Linked DNA regions of Homo sapiens: regions 2, 3 and 4 are each linked to region 1. The links are contacts of gene promoters, found by promoter capture Hi-C in human tissues and cell types (Jung and others, 2019). All regions are on one chromosome and are shown on one strand. Each heading gives the region's core, a stretch centred on a gene start or on the middle of the fragment in contact. The rest is flanking DNA. Distances are from core to core; before and after follow the strand shown. Region 1 holds the start of FRAS1 (Fraser extracellular matrix complex subunit 1). Region 2 overlaps BMP2K (BMP2 inducible kinase). Region 3 overlaps LINC01094 (long intergenic non-protein coding RNA 1094). Region 4 overlaps ANXA3 (annexin A3).

Region 1 (5,570 bases), core at 1,628-4,127:
TTGTGAAGAGATGACAGCAGGGCTGATCCAAGGAGATATTGTGGAACATATTAACAAAAGTTGTGGAATCTGGACTTGTAACTAAAGAGGACTGAAGATATAGACCCAAATATCTCTGGCTAGTGAATTGCCAACTTCCTATGAGGAAGCATGAAGCTGTCATTTGTGGAGGTTAACTTATAGAGATAAGCTAGTTATGATTAGGTGCATCTCCATAAACATGCTTACTAAATTTTCATCATAATGAAATATGTTAGGTTTATATAATCTCTTTTTCCAACATTTCAGTTGAAGTGAACATAGGTGTTAGATATGCCTAATATTACAGAAATATTGGTTGACCCTTTGCTCTTCCAAGTGATCTTAGGGCAAGGACTCAGGCTGCCTTCTCCCTTGACTACTTAGGGCAGAGGGAGGACTATGTGAGTGGGCCAGCATGTGCCCCTGTGGTGGACTGGTGGTCAAGGGGGGATGTTATATATAAATCCAATAAATACAGCATATGATTAATTCAGGGTAACTTGGTAGTGCTATTCTCCCTTTATTTATTGCTTTTCCTTTTTGAAAAGTAGCATATTTGCAATTAGCAAGTATAACAGATATCTTATTGAGACCTGTGCCATAATTGTATGATTTTTGGAGTGCAGTGATTATTTATAGGCGTAATCAGGGTGGACCATGGCCTCCAACTTCCAAGCTCAAGTGATCCTCCCGCCTCAGCCTCTGGAGTAGCTGAGACTACAGGTGCACCCCACTGCACCCAGCTTGATTTTTAAAATAAAATCAAATTGTTGATTTTTGAGAGAACAAACGGTTTAAGTTACTCCCATTCAGTAGCAGCTGCAAAATTAGGAGGGGGTTTAAGGGTGACCGTCTGGTTGTCAGAGTGTGTTGGAAGCTGAGTTTGAATTTGCACATCACTTTACATGGATTGAGAAGATGTCCTCCACCCCCCCGCCCCGCCCGACCTTTATTTTTGAGACAGAGTCTCGCTGTGTCACCCAGGCTGGAGTGCAGTGGTGAGATCTCTGCTCACTGCAACCTCTGCCTCCCGGGTTCAAGTGATTCTCGTGCCTCAGCCTTCAGAGTACCTGGGATTAAAGGCATGTGCCACCACACGTGGCTAATTTTTGTATTTTTAGTGGAAATGGGGTTTCACCATGTTGGCCAGGCTGGTCTCGAACTCCTGACGTCGTGATCTGCCTGCCTTGGCCTCCCAAAGTGCTGGGATTACAGGCGTGAGCCACCGCACAGGCCCTACTTTCTAAATAAAAAGGGAGGGGTCTTTTTTTGGGAGGAGGTTAAGGCCCGCAGCTCCCCTTGATATGGCCGCTGCTCTCAGGCACTTAATCCATTATTTCAACAAATGTTTAAAGAGCACCTACTATGTGCTTCAATTATACAAAGATGATACAACCTCTGTCCCTAGAATGACCACAGCCCAACAGAGAGACTGAGGGCGAAATGTGCAAACCCTGGGTCCTCCAAATACTTAAGATTCAGAGCCAGGTTGTCAGAGGTTCTCCTTTGTTCTGGCTGAATAGTAACACTGACAGGGACCTGCCAGTTTCAAGTTATTCCAGTTATTCGGAAAAGTGAATTGTTCCAAGTGGCGTCAGTGCACGTTAGAACGTGGGCCCGCGTCATGGTGTTCGTGAAGACTGGAAACAAGTGGGACCCCCGCCAGCACAGCTCATGCAACTGCTTCCCCTCCAACAGTTTCGCCCATCCCGACTCAATTGAGGGACCCGAGACGTTTCTTCTCTGGGCCAATCAGAACCCAGTCAGCATCTCTCTGATGCAACTGTTCCCTTATAAAACGATTAAACGTGGACCAGCTATTTTTATTCGGTCCTATAAAAATAGCTGCCGTCAGTCAGTCCTGGCGGGGAATCAAGGCCTCTGCTCTTCAAGTGCGCGCCCCAGTCGGCCGTGTCCTGATGTTACTTTCCCAGCCATTGGCATCTGGGGGCGCAGCTGGACCCACAGCTCCCAGACCGCGTTGTGTTCCACTGACAGAGTCTCCTAGGGAAAGGGAAAGGTGCATTTGCTCTCAGGCTCCGCCTAGGACACACACACCAAGATCTTCCCGGGCTGCTGGTAAAAGCCAGGATGCAACAGCCTGAGGGTCCCAGAGCGAGGAAGAAGGATCAATCAGGTCCCCCGGACGCACTTAGTTCAGCAGGAGTGGCGGGCTGTGGGGGTGGGAGGTAGCCCCAGGGCCTTTGATGTGGGCACACGCTCCCCCAGCCCGCCGAATCGGTTCCTCCCCTAACAAGGGATGTGGACACGGTTCATCTGCCTTCCGGTGTGCCTGAGCAAGAACTGTGCAACCTATCTCCACCCCCTCCGTCCCCGGTATGAGCACTTTTGATTCCTCCCCAGACAAAGCCAATCTGAACTCCAGCAGAATGAATAAAGGGATCAGGTTGCTCTCCCGGCCTCCCCTCACCTCCCTCCTCGCTTCTCCCTTTCCCCACGTGACTCTCTGGAATTTCGCCAAAGCTCCGAGTCTCTGGGTCCATTTTCACACCGAGCAAAGCAGAGAGGAAGGAGGCAAGGGAGACTAGAGGAAGGCTGAACGTGTGTCCTTTAAACACGGGGTCCAGACCCGGCGTATTTTGGGCGTTTCCAGGCTCTCTCGCCAGAGTGGCCTTGAGTTTGGGGGTCTTTTCCAGCCTCGCTAGCTTTTTCCTCCGTGCAATTAAAATTATGGCTCTTCTTCCACTCCCGTAATCATTGCACCTCTACCCTGCAGACCTCCTCCGGGGTGTTCAGCGCGGAGGTGGGTGTTGGTGTGCAGCAAGCCGCGTCCCCGCAGCCCTCCTCACCCAGGCGAGGGGCGGGGACGAGAAAGTAGCAGCAGCGCCCCCCAGTCTTTCCTCTGAAGCTTCCGAACAGTCTGCTTCAGGGAGCGCAGCCTGAGGCGGTGTGGTGCGGTGCGGCTGCAGGGCGGGCGAGTCCCCGGAGCTGCCCTCAGCGCTGCACAGTTTCCAGCGAGCGGACCCCGGCAGATGAGGTCTGCCGAGCCGGGTGGCTCGACCAAGGAGTGGGTGTGGGTGGGTCTTTCGGGGCTCCCGGCGACCCGCGGTGCCGACGCAACGCCGACGTATGGTGCCAAGCGAACTTTAAAAAGCTGCTTCGGACAAACCAGAGCCAGGATTTCCACTGTCGGGGACCCGGGATCGGAAGGGTCTAGCCCGAGGGAAATGCTGGAAGATCCCATCGGCCAGTGACCAGCAACTTTCCGGCGAGATTTTGACGCGGAGAACTGTGCTCTGCCTCCTCTTATTCTCCCAAAGCTCACGTTGGCGTCCTGCCTTGCGGGGGAACTCGGCGCGCTCTCTGCCTGAGCAGCGAGTGAATTGAACCCCAGCCCGCTCCGGCGCCTCCGGGCTGATGAGTGTCGCTCTCCGCCCGTCCATCTCTTTTTCCCGGAGGTAAAGGCCCGCGGTCCCCCACCTTCAGTGCGCCCGGGTTCCAAGCGCCGGAGCCAGCGTTTTGGCGGAGCCGCTTCTTGGATGCTGAAGGCTGGGCTCCTCCATCGTGGGTGCCGAGGCGGCGATGGGTGTCCTCAAAGTGTGGCTCGGGCTGGCCCTAGCGTTGGCGGAATTTGCAGTATTGCCTCATCATTCCGAAGGTGAGAGAGCGGTGCCGCGTGTGTGTGTGTGTGTGCGTGTGCGTGTGTGTGTGTATGTGTGAGTGATCGTGCAGTTTAAAAATCTCAGCAGGTTTTATGGTATTTCGGTGAGGTGGAAGTTTTTCTGGGAAGGGTGAGGTGGAAGTGAAACTGGAATAGGCTTTTTCTGATAAGATTCCTACTCCTGATTGTTTTGTATTCGGATTACACCCCCGAAACGGCCTCCCTCTCTGCCCTAAGTGCTTTTGGGTGGGTGGGTGGCCGATGGAGGTGACATCTCTGAAACTGATCCTTTTTCTTTCCACCACCTACCTTTCCCCGAAGGGAAAGCAACTGCATGGAGCACAGGTGAGGAGCGAACAATTGCTCTTACCTGTTTAAAAATACTTCTGTTCCTAAGAAACATACAGTCTTTCATCTTAAAGCCCCATCGCTCTCCCGCCCTCCTTACCTCAGTTAGTCTCCCCCTAAAGTCCAGTTAGGATTTTATAACTAACTGGTTGGAGCGTGTTCTGGTCGTGGGCAGTTCAGTTGCACTGAAAGAAATCTCTCCAGTACGGAGAAGCACGAACCAGCCTGCTTCCCAGAACAAAAGTGGTTAATAAGAGTTTAGGTTCATTCTTTTACTTCACCCTCCGCCTCCTGGTTTTCCTCCGAGGCTCCAAGCTACCTGTAAAACCCCGGAGCCGCAGGAGAGAAAAGGAAGCCGTGAGACTAGTTGTCGCCATGATATCAAATGCAATCCGGGCTCAGCCAAATAAATGAGTCAATAAGTAAATCAAGAGTTTGGGGTCATGGGATGCCGGGCCTGGGGACGCGAGGCGCTGTGAGCTCCCTCCTGCTCCGAGGAGCCAGGGAAGTCGCCCCGCCAGTGCTTAGGGAGGGGGAAGGGAGCCGGCGGGCTGGGAGGAAGACGGCTTAATCCACAGCGCCTGGCTCTCGGCTTCCCCTCCCGGCTCCATTCATTATTCATCCAGCTGCGGGAAGAAGAGTTCACCTGCCCAGCCGCAAACCAGAGCCGCGGCTGGGCGGCGGCGGCGGGCGCAGGGCGGGCCGCCTTCTCCGCCCTGGTGCCTAGGAAGGGGCGCGGGGCGGCTCCCGGGAGTCGAGCTCTGGCGCAGGACTGGGGGCTGCGGGAGGCCCGGGGAGGACAAAGCTCTGCCTCGGGTCGACCTCCAGTCACTGGAGCAGCTGCCTTTTCTTTGCTGGCTTCCCAAGAGAAAGGCCTTGGGAATCCACGCACAAGGGTGGGGGACTTTCCCGTGGGTCCAGGTGCTGCCTTCTGCACTCTTCCGGGATGTGTGTCAAGTGTGTATAATCTCCGCGAAAGGCACATCTGGGGCCTGTGCAGCCTTCTCCCAACAGTGCAAGTCCTGTAGAAATATAACTTTATTGTTTATGTGCGTGTGGGCGCGTACTTTGGAAAAAAAAAAAAAAAGCTTGTAGGGCTTGATTATAACAATAAACCAGATGAGAGAGTCACCCCAGGCCACCCAAACCTGAACTTGGTACTTAGAAAAATTAATTTCACTTGGTGGCAGTTTTTAAAATTTAGAGTCCTATCCCAGCAACGCAGGAAACGTGCTATCACTCCCGGATAGCTCACCAGGGGGCAGTTGGAATGGTGCAGCTTGTCGGAACCAAAACTCTGAAATCAACAAAAGGCATTATTATTAAGAGCCTGCAGGGTGCGCTCTTTGGCAGATTGCTTGATCCAGTGGGCCAAGTTTAAGAAGTGCGGAATCTAGACTGGGAGGTGGGGATGGGGGGATGTGAAGCACAGAAAGCTGGGGGTAGAGACGGGGGGCGGGGGCGGGGGCGGAGAGAGGGTGTGGATATTACTCCAAAGAGTCTTTGGAAACTTTGCTTCTTATTGTTTGACTTTACTGTCAGAGCATTCTATAGCTGTTTCACAAATTGGATTGATAAA
Region 2 (5,570 bases), core at 2,004-4,503, 800 kb after region 1:
GTGTCTTTATGGAGGGAAAACCAAACAAATTTTAAGCAGGAAAATTGTTTTGAGACTTCTATCCAGAGTATTTTCTTTTTAAATTTGTTGAGCTGTTAGATTAGAGATGGTGGCTTAACTTTATCTAGGCCCAGGCATGGATCCTTCGTTTTGTGTAACTTGAATGGTAACTACTTTAATTTTTGGCTTAGGTCCTTGACTAAACCATGGTATAACTTGGCTGCTGCAACAGGCAGCTCCTTTAGCTTCTATTTTTGTTGGAATGTGCAGGGATTTTGTGCTTTTCTATGCAATATTGGTATAGGCATAATTAAATCAGTTGCCTCAGACCAGTGTGTACATCAATAAGAAATATTGTTGTAGTTTTAGTCTTATACTACCTTCAGTGCTGAAGCTCTATTTTGTGTTCTTAGGTTGTGTTAGTAGTATTTGTGTCAATAGAAAGATTTACACTATTGAGTGAGCAGAGAAATATTATTTCTTCGTGGCTAAGTTTTAAAAAGTTGATTTTATATTTATAGTAGAATCAGATTCAGTGGTAATGGTCTTGTGATGATTCAGGTGATCATTTTAAGTTGAGTAAACAAGGGCGTATTCTAGTTTCTCTGCCTTTTTTGTTTTGTTTTTAAACCTGATCACGTAATACTACTTTTAGGTGAACTGGACACATACATTCCTTAATCCATTTCTTTTCCCCAAAAGCGTATTTTGTTAATAGATGATATGGTTTTATTGTCATGAAGTAGCAATTAATAAAACACTGAACTCGAGGTTTAATTATTTGCAGGAGAAAATGGCTTTAGAAAAACTATAAAAATTGAAGGGTCAAATTCTTTCTTTCTTTCTTTTTTTAAAGAGACAGGGTCTTTCTGTTGCCTATGCTGGATTGCAATGGTGAGATCATAGCTCACTGCAGTCTTGAACTCCTAAGCCCAAGCCATCCTCTCACCCCAGCCTCCTAAGTAGCTGGGATTACAGGCAAGAGTCACCATGCCTGGCTGAAATGTCCTTGAATCAGTGTTTAGCTGTATTAAATGTGATACCTCTGCGCACTCTAGATTACATCCTTCAGTAATCCAGTGGTACATTTTGCAACCCATTCTCTTGAAGAGTTCAGTAAATTATATTATTTAACTTAAGTGCTTAAAGATGCCTTATTGATTTTTTTTCCTTTTTTTTAAATTGCTGATAATATTCAATTTAGAAATATTCAGAGATAAAAATGTAGCCAAGTTCTACCTGTGGGTTTTAGGTATGATTATTCATCTTTTCATACTTTGAATTTAGAACCAAGTCAGAGATGGTCCACTGGAGCTCATCAGATAAAACTGTCAACTTTTTAGTACTGGTAAAGCAGATTGCAGAATGAAATTTAGATCTAAAGCCGAAGGAGCCTGTTCCTCTGTTCCCAACCCTCAAATTTATTAACATCCAGTCATAGTCAATGCTGGAAAACCTTAGACTTCTTCCACAGAGACAGGTTACTTACAAAATGTGGTTTAGCAGAGAACATGTATGTTCTTAAAATAACCTGTTCTGAAAGAAAGATCATCAGAGATTGATGGGTGGAGGTGCTTCATTCTTTTTTCTAGTCTAACAATTTGACAAATCACTGTCTTTCCCACTGGGGAGAATGAGTTATAGTAGTAGATAGCGATCGTGGCACTACACTAGCACAGTGGCTTCAAACTTTTTGTGACTGTGATTCAATATATTAATAAAAAATACATTTTAGTTATGACCTGGTATACACTCCACACACAGAATACACACATGTAAACTGAATCACATTTCATGAAATATTGCTTACATTTACCATATTAATGTACTGTAATATTTTCTGTTCTTCTTTATTAAAATAAATAGTAGTTCTGACCTTTTGAGTTGATTTTATGTCACATAAATGGAATCAGTACAGTTAGACTAAACTGGCTCCAGCAGATATATTCCCACATGAAAACATGACCCAGGGGAATTGGAGGTCCTTGTGTTTGCTTATAAGATAATATCAGTTCTACCTGCAACCTAGCTACCTAATCATTAGAGGATATGCTGTGCTTAACCTGAGATACAGAAATACCTATACCCATATAGGTTAGGACACAAAATCTCAAATTTATTTTTTTCTCTCTCAGTGCTTTTCAATTGCTATGAAAGAAAACAAAACAAAGAAAAACAAGGAATGCCTGAACTATCATTTAATTCCTCTCTGAATACTTAAAAAGTTTTTCTTGGATTAAACCAGGCCGCAAAAGAAGTACATTCTTAAACCATACCCCTTTCTTTTACTGCATGGCATTTAGGCCACTAGTCCATACTGATAGCGTGTTTAAAACATGACCCTGTGTCACTCACTGCTATTCCTTAAGGATGTTGTTCACTTTGTGTGAGCTATCTTTAGAAAGACTCAACGGAGAATTTGCTCTCTAGCTTTCAGTATCACGAATAGTGTTTTTCCTTAGCACCTGATTTGTTTTTGTATTAGATACACTGTGATTCATGTAATGGATCATGTTGCCCTGTTTATATTGACAGCTAAAAAATGGAGAGCAAATTTTGGGCCTGCATTTAAGACCAAATCATATGTAGTTTGTAACTGACCTCATTATCCTGTCCATCTCAACCCCCAAGCCACTATTTTTCCATTAGTTTTAATTTTCTTATATATTTAAAAAAAATCTTAGTTTTGTGTGCCACTTCAAGTTCTTTATAGGACTAAATATGTATAATTAGCTATTGTTGAAATTAGATTTTAAAAGCCAAATAAATTTGTTAGAATAGAAAAATAGGACTATACGTTTGTGAATTAGGTAGGTTTCGTGTGATTTGTTTGGTTTTTAAAATTATATGAATAAGTAGTTATTGTTAACAGTATGTTTAAATTTATCCCCATTTTGTGTACTGTTGTTACGTTAAAAACATTTAATATCTGTTGGTATCAAGATAAAATAAATTTTGTAGATTCCTCAAATCTTTTTTGGATTGAGTTTGAATATAAACTAGCAAATATTAGAATTAAAATGTTTTTAGTTATTTCAGTCTAGCAATGGTGGTAAAAATTATAAAAAACATCCATTTTATAAGTGATATATGTTAGCATTATAAATATATAAAATCAAGTTACATGCAGAGTTTTCGTATATTTTACACTGAGCTCAGAATCTCTCAAATAAATTATAACTTTCCACATAACTGTGTTTTTAGCCAAAATAAGTTTATCATGTCATTGAAGATGTATCACACATTCTGTATTCAAAATATTACTTAAATTTGAAGGGAAGATTTAATTCATTTTGATTTATAATTTTATTTAACCCATTTACATACTTAGATCTCTCTATACATTATTTTATTAGCAAACTTAAGAATATCTAATTCTTTAAATTTTACATTTTAAGTAGTTTAAAAAGGATTTAAACATTATAACAACTTAGAGTTAATGAAGCAGAGGTAGACTTTGAGATGTCTTAACAAAATCTTTTACTTACGGAATTGAGTATAAATGTCAACCTTGTGAAATTTAGAATTAAAAATTATCCAAGAAGTGGAGTACTACCAAATGGTAGTGGTCATTTTGGTAGAAAAAAGATCAGGCATTTCAAGCAATGCTGTAAGGTTGTTTTGAAATCTGTTCATAAAAACCAGAAAACTCTGCCCATATTTCTGAGCATGATATGGATAACATGTTAAGATACAGAACTATGGTGAATGTTGTTAGCATCAATATGGGAAGAGAGTATGTTTTTGGAAAACGACAGTGCCAATCCATTACTACTTTGTTAGATTATAACATATACAATTTAGGCTTTTCTTAATGATTAAGGATCACTTAAAAATTAATACAGGTATTTTGGATAATAGTAATAATTATTTTGAATAGAATTATCTTGAAGGACCTTTTTACTATGGCCTTGGAACTTTCTTGAATAATTCCCCAGTGTTCACTAAACTCACTTTTTCTTTTGTGTCACTTTTTCAATAGAATAATCAAGTTTGTCATTCATACTTCTAGTGTAGAGCTGTTCTGTGATTGATCTACCCTTAGCTTGGGATAATGCTTTATTTATAAAATAGCAATTTCTGCATTTTCTGTAGGCATTAATAAAGTTTGCTAGAATCATCACTGATCTTAGAGTGGAACAGAAAATACATATTTTTTATCCTTATAATGTGCCCCTAAGTAGTATAATGTGTGTTTCATAAAACTTCTTAACATTTTGATCTATTCTTGCAGGGTTCATGCTTGAACCAGATCCGGAACATAGACCTGATATATTTCAAGTGTCATATTTTGCATTTAAATTTGCCAAAAAGGATTGTCCAGTCTCCAACATCAATGTAAGTAGATTTTCAAGTAGGATATGAATTTAAAATTCATTTTATCGTATGTGAATATATTTACTTTCAGAGTTACTTTTTTTTTGTTGCTGTTGCTAAAACTCAGAGTTTCTTGTTTCATGACAAGTGATCTGATTGTGTGTTTGATATTTGTGGTATAAAGCTTCAGTACCCAAACTATGCACTGAGATACCTTGGGGAGCTGCAGCAGACTCAGGCAGAATATTTTGCATTTTTGAGGAAAACACAGGGACATCTTTCTGACTTAGCACAAAACTAATTTTATTAAGTTATTTGGGCCTAACAGTTTAATAAACAGGACTGTTAGTTTTTTTTTTTTTTTCTTAGAAGTGTTGTAAACAATTACTGAGACACGGAGCACTGTTAACTGAGTAAGTTTGGGAAACTTTGGTATAAAGAGCACAGGCCTTGTTAAGTGGGAACTAAACAATGTGTACGCATAGATATAGACAGTGGAGTAATAGACATTGGAAGTCAGAAAGGTGGGAAGCGGATGAAGGATGAGAAGTTACCTAATGGGTACAATATACACTATTTGGGTGATGGTCATACTAAAAGCCCAGACTTCACCATTATGCAGTATATCCTTATAACAAAGCTGCACTTGTATCCCCTAAAACTACAAAAAAGTTTTTTTTTAAAAAGCACAGGCAATGTAAATAGACCCAGATTCAGTTTTGTCCTTATCAGTGACTGACTTTGAATCTTTTGGTAAGTTACTTTAATGTCCATTTCTTTTTCTGTAAAACAAGGATAGTAATTATAAGGATTACATGTGAAACCCAGTGCCTAGTCCATGGAAGGTGCTCAGTTGGCAATAGTTAGTATTATTCAAAAGCTTTCAATTTTATTCACTGACTGTACAGTGCATTTAACTACTTTAGGTGAATGGTGTATGGCAAGTCTCTGCCAATCTTAATAAAGGTTCTGCAATCATCACTGATTATAAGCCATTCTTGACTTTGTAAAGATCATTCTGGCCTGACCTGTTTCTGTAGGGTTTCCTTTATGTGTAACTTAATCTACCCCACTAAGAAAAAAGAAGGAATGTGGTACCTTTCCTTTTTTTTTTTTTTTTTTTTTTTGTGAAGCCCTCGCCATATTGATGTACTCTTTTCTCTGTTGAAGCTGAAAGCTTTGCAGTTCTAAAAGTAGATAAGTAGACTCATTCGACATTTACTCAGCAAGTATTTATTGAGTACCTACAAAGA
Region 3 (5,570 bases), core at 1,160-3,659, 610 kb after region 1:
TTATTTCTGTTCCCAGATGACAAATATTTTTTGAATTCTGCCCAGCTCCTCTTGGGGTAGACAAATATTAAAACAGAAAAAAGTGGCAAGGTGCTTTTGTTCAGTGTGGGCTCATGGGGAAAAGTCCTATAATATTTTCAGCTGGTCACTATGAAGGCAGCCAGCAGTGAGCTCAGCCGACATTGTTGTGGGATGGCACTATGACATCGATTAACGGAAAACTGAATGTTGAAATTATGCAGCAGAGGAAAAGAAAAGGAGGAGGACAATAACAAAATTTTCCAAACAGAAAATCACAAGGTCCACATAGGAAAAGTATAGTTTTCAAACTCCAGAAGATATTTGCAAACACCAGTGAGCAAGCTATGAATCTTGTTTTCCCATAGGCCCTACCATCAGTAGAGATCCCAGGTAGAGCAATTTACCTGCACATTGTTGCCAGGGAACAAGGGAAGGCGAGTCAAACTATTTGGGGATTTAGCTGAGCTTTGAAATAACTGAAAAGCTATGCTTCAATTTTTAAGAGTTCATCAGGTAGGATTTCTAGGATTGTAAGGTCCTCACTCTAGAACTTCTGAAAATAATCAGATGAATCGGAATTAAAGAACTAATGGCCTTAATTGTGTCTAAATAGGAATGAAGTAACAATGACTGTCATCATGAGCTATTCTCTTCTATGGCTCTGGACGGTCTTTTTTTTTTTTTTTTTCTGTTCAGAGCTTCCTGCTTGGTGTTTGCCTAAGTAGGGAGGAAAGCCATTGTTTGAACTTTGCAACAACAGATTGCAAGCTAAGGCTTTTCTACACTTTGTTTAATTTTCCTGAAATGTTCCTTTTTACAGAAAAGATCTGTTGTTGACCTAGCATGCTTTTTGTCTTACTCAATACTCCCCTGGGGATGTAGTTAAAACAACACTTAGCTGTAATTCTCCTGGGTGGAGAAGTGTTTGGTGGTGGCAATGAAACTAAAGCACAGATTTGAGCAACTGTGGGCTGTTGACTTTATGCTAGCCTTTCATAAAGAGAAACCTCAAAACACCGTGGCCATTCAGCAAACAGTGTGAGTTTCATCTAAGCCTGGCTGGCTTTGCCCTTGCTATCTTCGGGCTAGAATGATCCTAACCATCAGTGTCTTTGTGTCATGATGCAGAAAGTTGGCTAGGACATAGGAGGATAATGCTGAAGTATAACTTCTGAGTGGGGGAGGGAATCAGGCAGAGAAGTAAAGCTCTACACAATGGCTAGTGCTTCTGTATTATGATGTGTGTTCCAACGGAGGTCAATCATTGTGCATTGTCTCTAGGGAGTGAATACAGCATATTATTTTGGGGTAGAAATTGAGATTTCTTTTGGTGGTAAAATATACAGAAAATAGAAACTCTCTGTACTTGATTTCTTTAAGTTTATTTAAATACCTTCAAAGGTATTCTTCTATGAGAAGGAACATGACATAATAGGACTCTAAAAATGAAACTGTTTTAGTGATGGAAATTTTCCATATCAAATCTACTATAGCCACTAGGATATATTACCAAAGTTTTTAAAAATTCTTGTGTGCAGTGAACTTTGTTGATTGCCTACTCAGCAAAAAATCATCTCCTGTGTTCCTAATGAACCTCAATTTTGCTTTCCTCTCTTCTAGTCATGTGCCTGGGAAAGATTGATGCCAGCTCCAGAAAGGCATCCGAATGGTCTAAGTAATGCCATCCATCTGTCAGTAATAGATTCAGAAATGGGTATGTGATTCAAGTCTGGCCAATGAGATGTATGCAGAAGAGTGCTGGGTATTCTGGAAAATTATCCCTTGTCATTCAGAGATCCACAGGAATCCAGCCTTTTGCTCCTTGAATGGGATAAGGAAGCACATAATCCCAGTTGCTCTTCCAGTCATCCCAGACCCACAGCCCTGCTTTAGCCATCCTATAGCCATCATATATTCACAAGGGGAGAGCAACTGAGGACAACACTGTGGATCCTTGTGACATAACCAAGCCAGTGAACCAATCAATACATTTATTTATTGTTTGAGCCATTGTAGTTGAGCTTACGTTACTGGCAGCTGAAAGCTGAAAGTTATTCTATCTGCCAATCCTCATCTTGCACGTCTCTTAGTTTTGCTCTTATCTCTCCTTTTCCTCTTTTTCACACATAAATCCCAATCTTTGTTCCAACTCACACTGTCAACACTCTGACCTTTCCCTCTTGCTTTCTTTTCCTCTTCTCTCTGTCCCTCTCCCTTTTGCCTTTCTTTCTGCCAGTGCTACCCACAGGTATATCTTAAATCTTATTAGCCATAGCCATGACCAAAGACTAGGACCACCACTAGGTATAACTGGATTAGGTGGAGTTTTGCTCATTTGCCCTCCTTTGTACTTTCGACATCAACATCCCTCACCCCTCAGCAATTCTCTCCACTGTGCCCCACTCCATATAACAAAAAGTCTTGTGTGCTCTGAAACATCCACCCAAAAACTATATTTTCACTAAAATTCCTTTGGTGATAATGCCTTAACATGGTGGTTTCCAAAGCTTTTTAAAACCATAACCCACATTAAGTATCCTCACTCAGTATACACAGAATATACACATAGGCACTTGATATAGTCTGGATATTTGTCCCTGCCCAACTCTTATGTTGAATTGTAATCCCCAGTGCTAGAGGTGGGGCTTGGTGGGAGGGTGTTTGGATCCCTCATGGCTTGGTGCTGTCTTCACAATAGTGAGTTCTCTAGACATCTGGTCATTTGAAAGTGTGTGGCACCTTCCCCCTCTCCTTGCTTCTGCTCTGACTATGTGACATGCCTGCTTTCCTGCTTTCCTTTTGCCTTCTGCCATGATCATAAGCTTCCTGAGGACTTCCCAGAAGTCAAGCTGATGCTAGCATCATTGCTTCCTGCAAAGCCTGCAGAGCTGTGAACCTCTTTTCTTTATGAATTATCCAGTCTCAGGTATTTCTTTATAATGTGAAAGGAAAATAAACCTTGGGGCCCCCAAATCACTAAGCTAAATGGAAAAGTCAAGCTGGGAACTGCTTAGAGCAAACCTGCCTCCCATTCTATTCAAAGTCATCCCTCTGCTCACTGAGATAGATGTATATCTGATTGCCTCCTTTGGAAAGGCTAATCAGAAACTCAAAAGAATGAAACCATTCATTTGTCTCTCGCCTATCTGTGACCTGGAAGCCCCCTCTCTGCTTCGGCTTCAAGGCTTCCTGCCTTTGCTTCAAGTTGTCGCGCCTTTCCAGACCCAACCAATGTACTTCTTACATATACTGATTGATGCTTCATGTCTCCCTAAAATGTATAAAACTCAGCTGTGCCCCAGCCACCTTGGCCACATGTCATCAGGACTCCCTGAGGCTGTGCCGCAGGCTCATCTTCAACCTTGGCAAAATAAACTTTCTAAATTAACTGAGACCTGTCTCAGATTTTCGGGGTTTAGAGTAGCAATGCAAGAAGGGACTAACACAACACTGCAGGAAAAGTTCTATGAAACACACTTACCTTTACTACCAGTGACACATTCTGATATTACATATTCTGTTCTATTTCATTTTTAAAAAGTGTTTGTCTGTACTCACTAAATTGATGTCATGGATAGTTGTTGTGACCACCAAAAACACTTCCTTCACCCACAGCAGAAATTCTGGTGGTCGTGTGATAAACTTGTCAAAAAGTCCTTTGAGGGTAATTAGACTCATACTTAAACCTGAATAAAATGACAGCCAACACCAACTAAAAGAAGTTCTGTCTGTGTCAATTTGGATACATTGTTTCCCCTAAAAAAATGAAGAGTGAGTGAGAATATATGAATGCTGACACCTGATGTGTTCCTAGTAATTTCAGGGGATCTTTCTGAAATGGCAAAAGTGTTTAAGAAACACCATTATAATTATTTCTGAAAGTAAAGATGTTTCCTGCAAAAGCTATTTGAGTCCCAGAGCCAATTCATTAATTGGTTTTATGTTTGACTTTTTAGAGCCCATTAAATATATCTATTTGGTTATTCATTTGGCAGCTATGCTACTTCTTTAAGAGCTGGGAATGGCAGATTGTCTATAAGAATCATTTTTATAACATGGATTGTGGTAAAAATGTGTTAGCTTTCTTGTTGATAACTACTTGTTATCAGCTAGAACCACTTTTACAGCCTGTACCATGTGAAGGCCTCACATATAAAGTCCATAGCATGTTTGAAAGTCACATGATATCTAGAAAAGCCCTGTATAAACTGGAAAGCATTGTGTAAACACAAAATATTATTATTATGCATTTTTTTAAAGTAAGAAACTCTTGCCTAAGAAGTCAGTCATCCCCATGGTTAGAACATGTCTCCCAAAGTTCATGTGTTGGAAACTTAATTGCCATTGTAACAATATTAAGAGGTGGGGCCTTTAAGAAGTGATTAGGTCATGAGGGCTTTGTCCTCATGAATGGACTAATGTTGTTATCATGGGAATGGGTTAATTGTGGTGAGCCTGGCCCCCTTTTTCTTTCTGCTTCATCTGCCCCTTTCTGCCATCCATCCTTTTGCCATGGAATGACTCCTGCCAGATGCCAGTACTATGCTCTCAGCCTTCCTGGCGTTCAGAACCATGAACAGAATAAATTTCTTTTTTTAATAAATTACCCATCTCTGGTATTCTGCTATAACAGCCAAAAATTGACTAGGGCCTTCATGAATTTTGAATGCCAATGAATTTTAATGTTTTTGTTAATGGTACTGAGTTCTATAAATGTTTTTCCCCACCCTCTAATTGATACGCACACACATGCACACACACACACACACATGCATACATATGCACATACATATTAGACTTTTAAGCCTATATTCAATACAATACAGGCTGGTTGCTAATTTACAAACCCTATTTTCTCTTTTATAAGATATATTAGAAGGTAGGTTTTCTTCTATATGTAGTTATAGTTGTGGTGTGATATGCCCAGAATTACTGTGAGATATGTTAAATGGTACAGTATAGCTTTAGTAGTTAAGGTTTTGGAGACAGAAAGACTCCAAATGCAATCTTACATTTAACAAGGTCTGTGAATTTGGGTGAGTTACTTAACCTTCCAAGCTCTGATGTTCCTCATCTGTCAGATGAGGTTAATATAATGCACCTCACAAAGATGTTATAGAATTGAATTTATCTCTACTCATTAAATTAATTTCATAATTTACTAATGGGTCATGACCACCAAAAACACAGGCTTAACCCACAGAAGAAATTCTGATATTAAGAATCATGGAGCCAGGTGCAGTGGTGCATGTCTGTAGTCCCAGATACTCAGGAGGCTAAGGCAGGAGGATTGCTTGAGCCCAGGAGGTGGAGGCTGCAGTGATATGATTGTGCCACTGTACTCCAGCCTGGGCAACAGAGCGAGACCTTGTCTCTAAAAAAAGAAAAAGAAAAAGAAACAAAGCTGATTTAAAAAATTGTGGGCATATTACAAACCTGCAATGTATGTGTGTGTGTGTGTGTGTGTGTGTCTGTGTGTGCATGTAAAGTACTTAGGACTTAGGACAGCACACTTAGTATTTAGCACATAATACCTAGCAATAGCTCAA
Region 4 (5,570 bases), core at 826-3,325, 540 kb after region 1:
ACCTCCCACTTCAGCCTCCTGAGTAACTGGGACCACAGGTGTACACCACCACATTCAGCTAATTTTTTTTTTTTTTTTTTTTTTTTTTAGAGCGAGAGAAGGTCTCACTCTTGCATTAATTAGTATGTGTATTTATTATAATTGGTGAATGAATATTGATACATTATTATTAACTGAAGTTTATAGTTTACATTAGGGTTCACTCTTTCTGTGATATAGTTCTATGGATTTTAATAAATGTATAATGTCATATGTCTATCATTACAGTATGATAGAGTAGTTTCACTGTCCTAAAAATCCTCTGTGCTCTGCCAGTTCATACCTTCCTCCCCACCAACTACTGATCTTCTTACTGTCTCTATAGTTTTGCCATCTCTAGAATGTCCTATAGTTGGAATCATACAGTACGTAGCCATTTCAGGCAGGCTGGCTTCTTTCACTTAGCTATATGCCTTTAAGGTTCCTCTATGTCTTTTCATGGCTTGATAGCTCATTTCTTTTTAGTACTGAGTAGTATTCCATTGTATAGAATATTTATTTTACCTGCTGAAAGGCATCTTCTTTGCTTCCAAGTTTGGCAATTATAAATAAAACTTCTGTAAACATTCATGTGCAGATTTTTGTATGGACATGTTTTCAACTCCTTTAGTTAAATAGCGAGGGGTGCAATTGCTTGATTATATAGTAAGAGATATTTAGCTTTATTAAAAAACTGCAGAACTGTCTTCCAAAGTGACTGTACCATTTTGCTTTCATATCAGCAGTGAATGAGAGTTCCTGTTGCTCCACATTCTCACCAGTATTTGGTGTTGTCAGTGTTTTGGATTTAAGCCCTTCTAATAGGTTGTGTAGTGGCATCTTATTGTTTTAATTTGTAATTATCTAATGACATACAATGTTGAGAATCTTTTCATGTGCCATCTGTGCGTCTTCTTTGGTGAGATGTCTGTTGAGATCTTTCAACCATTTTTAAATTGGGTTGTTATTTTCATATTGAGTTTTAAGAGTTCTTTATGTATTTTGGATACAAGTTCTTTATCAGATACATGTTACAAATATGTTCTCCCAGTTTGTACCTTGTCTTTTCTTCCACATAAGACCTCTGTGTTGGGTTGGGCACAGTGGCCCACACTTGTATTCCCAGAGATTCAGGAGGCTGAGGTGGGAGGACAGCTTGAGGCCAGGAGTTTGAGACCAGCCTGGGCAACATAGCGAGATCCCATCTCTAAAAAAAATTTTTAAATTAGCTGTGTGTGGTGGTGTGCACCTGTAGTCATATTAGCTATTCAGGAGGCTGAAGCGGGAAGATGGCTTGAGCCTTGGAGTTCAAGGTTATAGTGAGCTATGACTGCAGGACTACACTCTGGCCTGGCCAACAGAGAGTGAGAACCTGTCTCTAAATATATATATATATGAATTTTCGGAGGAGGGAACTGAGGCCCCCAAAATTGTGTGATTTGCTAAAAATTTCATGACTAGTCAATGGCAGAACCAGAACTGGAGCCCTGAGTACATGATTTTTCTGTGCAACCTGTCCTGCCTTAAAGAAAAACCACTAAGATCCCCTGCTGGTTGAAGTACTATGTGTTAGAATCTTCTATCTTTAAAGGATGGCCCTTGTTTTCGTCCTCCTGTTTAGGGCAGAAGAGATGAAAGTCTGAAAGTGGATGAGCATCTGGCCAAACAAGATGCCCAGGTCAGTAACAAAGCGGGAAAACATTTCCTTTACCTATTCTCCTATGTGGCTGCCTTTGCATTTATGTGAAAAGGGAGAAAAATAGCAGCAACAGGGACTTTTCTTTTTTTTTTTTTCCTGTTTGAAAGAGAAGCCTGAAGCTTGGGGATCGGAACCCTAACTTTTTGCCTGCCCCAGTGGTAGTTATCATTCTCCTTGGCTCCTGACAGCCCAATTTTTGATTTCTAGTCTTCTGAAAGTGAGAGATTTAGATAATAGATGATGGCACTGACCTCTGAAATACAACTCCGATTCTTCTCATGTCACCTCTCAAAAAGAAAATAATTGTGTCTCTAATATCATTCTCTTGTGAATAGATTCTCTATAAAGCTGGTGAGAACAGATGGGGCACGGATGAAGACAAATTCACTGAGATCCTGTGTTTAAGGAGCTTTCCTCAATTAAAACTAAGTACAAACTCACATTACAATCCTTTGTGTTGTATGTTGTTTTTACAAATGTTTTTGCATTTAGTATACAAAGATCTAGAAAAACGAAGTTTAAAATTGCGAAGTCTGTTCCAGTTATTCACACTTCAGGAAACAAAATGGGAAAGCTGTATTGTAACTCAAGGAAGTACTGACACTACACTTTTGTTTTTCCATAGAGGCTGAGTAGATTACCTAGTGAGTACCAGGTAATAGATGGGGGAGGGAGGTGGCAGGGAGAAGAAAAGAGGCCACCCTCTAGGGTGAGAGTAGAAGGGCTTGTTCCTGTGGAATGGAGAAGCCCAACTGCTTCCACTCCACCTAACAGTTCTCCCTAGTTAGCCACTTCCAGAAAAGCCAGACACTGCAGGTGAGTCTCTGTTGACACATCAATACTGATTAACCTTTAGCTATTTCTGATATGAAGGTAAGTGGTAGAATGGATCAACTCTTATCGTCAGACCAGCTATTACATGGAATTGTGGGCACCCGCCCTCTTGCTCATGGCATCTCCTAGAACTGTTCTGGAAGCAACAACACCTAGAAAACTAAACCTTCATTTACTGTGAACATCTTCTGACTGTGGCTTCCAGATGCTAGTTTACAGAACAACCACACAGCAAGACCAAGCTTATGCTGAGTTGACGGAACAATGAGTAAACATAAGGATATTACTGTGACTTTGAAATTCTGAAATTGTTCTTTCTTAACTTTTGCATTAAAATCACATTTATTTTATAAAATAATGACAACAGTATGTGATAGTTGCTTTATTCATGTCTTTGTTTGAAAAACAAAAACCAGATAACCCTAGGTCTCTCTCCAAAATTTCTTTTTTTAAAAATGTATTGGGGAAAAATATACTTGGCTTACAAAATATGCCTGTATACTTGGTGACATATGTACAGGTTTTGCTTGGGGCAAATACTGATCAAGAAATTCAAATGCCTTCTGGGAGGTGTGAAGTAGGCCATGCCACCTTAGGAAATGATTCAGCACAAGGAAGTCTTCAGAATTAAGATTTCTTTACCAGAGAAAACATATTTGACTAGTGATTATAGTATCATTTCCCAGGTGCTGCTATAAATAAAATTTAAAATAGCCCAACTTACTGGATAAATTATTTATTATTTAACTATTTAGGCTATTTAAAATGCTTACTGCTTGAGAGAAGGGGAAAGAGAAAGAGAGATCATTGAAGAAAATCATCTAGGGAGTTTGGGTTTTGTTGTAGATGATTTCCTTAAAAAGGAACAAAAGAAAAACAAAAACTTCTGTGCCCAGATTTTCATGGTTTAAAGAGGGAGTTTTTTAGCTTGCTACTTGATCTTCTGCATATCAAATAAAAAACTAGAATATATTCAAATGTGCTCAACTGCGTTGCTTTAAATAATTTTGTGGTGCTTCTTTTTAGCATTTGATGAATACAGAAATATCAGCCAAAAGGACATTGTGGACAGCATAAAAGGAGAATTATCTGGGCATTTTGAAGACTTACTGTTGGCCATAGGTAAGACTTCGAGTGCTGGTAAACTAAGTTACTTTGCACTTGCTTTAACTCAGTGCCGAGGCCTGCTCCTTTTGGGCAAGAATCCTGACTGATCCATTTTTTTTGCTCCCTACAGCCCCCAACATGGTCCAGGATACACACAGTACGCTCAACAAATATTGTTAAATGAATGCTTGAAGAAGTTATTTTTTTAAGTCTTTTTTCTTTTTCTTTTTTGAAACAGGATCTCACTCTGTCACCCAGGCTGGAGTGCAGTGGTGTGATCTCAGCTCACTGCAGCCTCAACCTCCTGGGCTCAAGCAGTCCTCCCACCTCAGCCTCCCAAGTAGCTGAGACAACAAGCATGTATACCACCTGGCCCAGCTAATTTTGTATTTTTTGTAGAGATGGGGTTTCACCATGTTGCCCAGGCTGGTCGTGAACTCCTGAGCTCAAGCAATCCATCCACCTCAGCCTCCCAAAGTGTTGGGATTACAGGTGTGAGCTACCACATCCAGCCATCTTTTTAAATCTTACCTTGCTTTTTAAATTTGTATTTGTCTTGTGACCATGTTTAGCTTGTAGACTTCTTGAGAGCTGAAATATTTTATTTCTACTGGCATTTTTATTGAGCTTTGTTGAAAACTGAGACGTAGGCAAAGCACAGTGGCATGCACGTGTAGTCTTACCTACTTGGGAGGCTGAGGTGGAAGGATTGCTGGAGCCAAGGAGTTCAAGGCCAGTTTGGGCAACATAGCAAGATCTTGTCTCTTTAATTAAAAAAACCACACACACACACACACACACACACACATGCAACTAAGACCTAAGCCAGTTTGGTAATCCACCATATTTGGTTATTTATGAAAGATATCAGTGGCTTTTCTTTTCTTTCTTTCTTTTTTTTTTTTCTTTTGAGATGGAGTCTCACTCTGTCACCCAGACTAGAGTGCAGTGGCACAATCTCAGCTCATTGTTGACTCTGAATTGCTAAAAGATAAGCCGAGGAGGCTAAGAAAGGGAAAACTTTCTTCTTCAATTAAAAAAGTAGAATTGAGATCAGTCTTCATAATTAGTTCTCAGACTGTTCCAGTGGTAATGATACACCTGGTTAATTTTTTTTTCCATTTTACATTGTTAATCTTTTTTTCTTTTTTTTTCTTTGTGACGGAGTCTCGCTCGGTTGCCCAAGCTGGAGTGTGGTGGCGCAATCTCAGGTCACTGCAACCTCCGCCTTCCAGGTTCAAGCAATTCTTGTGCCTCAGCCTCCTAAGTAGCTGGGATTACAGGCACACGCCACCACGCCTGGCTAACGTTTGTATTTTTAGTAGAGACAGGGTTTCACCATGTTGGCCGGGGTGGTCTCAAATTCCTGACCTCAAGTGATCCGCCCACCTCTGCCTCCCAAAGTGCTGGGATTACAGGCTTGAGCCACCACCCCTGGCCTATATTGTTAATCTTTATATTAATTCTGCTTGCTGTTTTTCATTTGGTGTTCTTGCTAAGCCGTAATGTTTGAAAAACTTTGTTGAGATGTACAAACTCTCATTCACTGAGCTAAGGAGCATTCTTGGAAATATATCATTGAATAATGTATTACATTTGGGCTATAATGCACATTATTTTATCATGTAAAAAAAGACCTTATAATTCAATTGAAGTTCAAAATATGTTACACTTTCATTTTGTTTCAGTCTACCATTGGAATAAACCAGTTTATAAAATTTTTTATTGAGATATAACTTACATACCATAAAGTTCACCCACTCAAAGTGTGCAATTCAATGCTTTTTAATGTAGTCACAAGGTTTTGCAACCATCACCACAATCTAAGTTTAGGACGTTTTAATCAGCCGCATAAGAAACCCTGTAACTATTGACAGTCACTTTCCAATCCTCCCCACCCCCTGGCTCCTAT

The links. The method cuts DNA at HindIII sites, captures the fragments that hold promoters and counts their contacts. A contact is called where the count stands out against the background at its distance.
Region 2: a fragment that was not itself captured here is called in contact with the fragment with the promoter of FRAS1 in region 1 in 1 of the 25 tissues and cell types used here (dorsolateral prefrontal cortex).
Region 3: a fragment that was not itself captured here is called in contact with the fragment with the promoter of FRAS1 in region 1 in 1 of the 25 tissues and cell types used here (H1 embryonic stem cells).
Region 4: a contact is called between a fragment that was not itself captured here and the fragment with the promoter of FRAS1 in region 1, in 1 of the 25 tissues and cell types used here (heart left ventricle).

Annotation. Positions count from the first base shown.
Region 1 is chr4:78,054,446-78,060,015 of GRCh38, forward strand. It overlaps FRAS1 (Fraser extracellular matrix complex subunit 1), which reads left to right and starts at 2,878. Exons shown (of 74, transcript NM_025074.7): 1 at 2,878-3,640. The coding sequence starts at 3,565. RefSeq lists an enhancer at 1,464-2,435. The HindIII fragment of the contact is 7,312 bases long and covers 1-5,570 here.
Region 2 is chr4:78,855,350-78,860,919 of GRCh38, forward strand. It overlaps BMP2K (BMP2 inducible kinase), which reads left to right. Exons shown (of 16, transcript NM_198892.2): 8 at 4,235-4,338. Among named protein-coding and RNA genes, the nearest start is that of PAQR3, 81 kb to the right of the region's middle. The HindIII fragment of the contact is 3,192 bases long and covers 1,658-4,849 here.
Region 3 is chr4:78,661,277-78,666,846 of GRCh38, forward strand. LINC01094 (long intergenic non-protein coding RNA 1094) reads left to right here. Exons shown (of 3, transcript NR_038308.1): 2 at 1,642-1,696. Among named protein-coding and RNA genes, the nearest start is that of LINC01094, 18 kb to the left of the region's middle. The HindIII fragment of the contact is 3,718 bases long and covers 551-4,268 here.
Region 4 is chr4:78,593,742-78,599,311 of GRCh38, forward strand. It overlaps ANXA3 (annexin A3), which reads left to right. Exons shown (of 13, transcript NM_005139.3): 8 at 1,640-1,696; 9 at 2,053-2,146; 10 at 3,578-3,673. Among named protein-coding and RNA genes, the nearest start is that of ANXA3, 45 kb to the left of the region's middle. The HindIII fragment of the contact is 5,153 bases long and covers 1-4,652 here.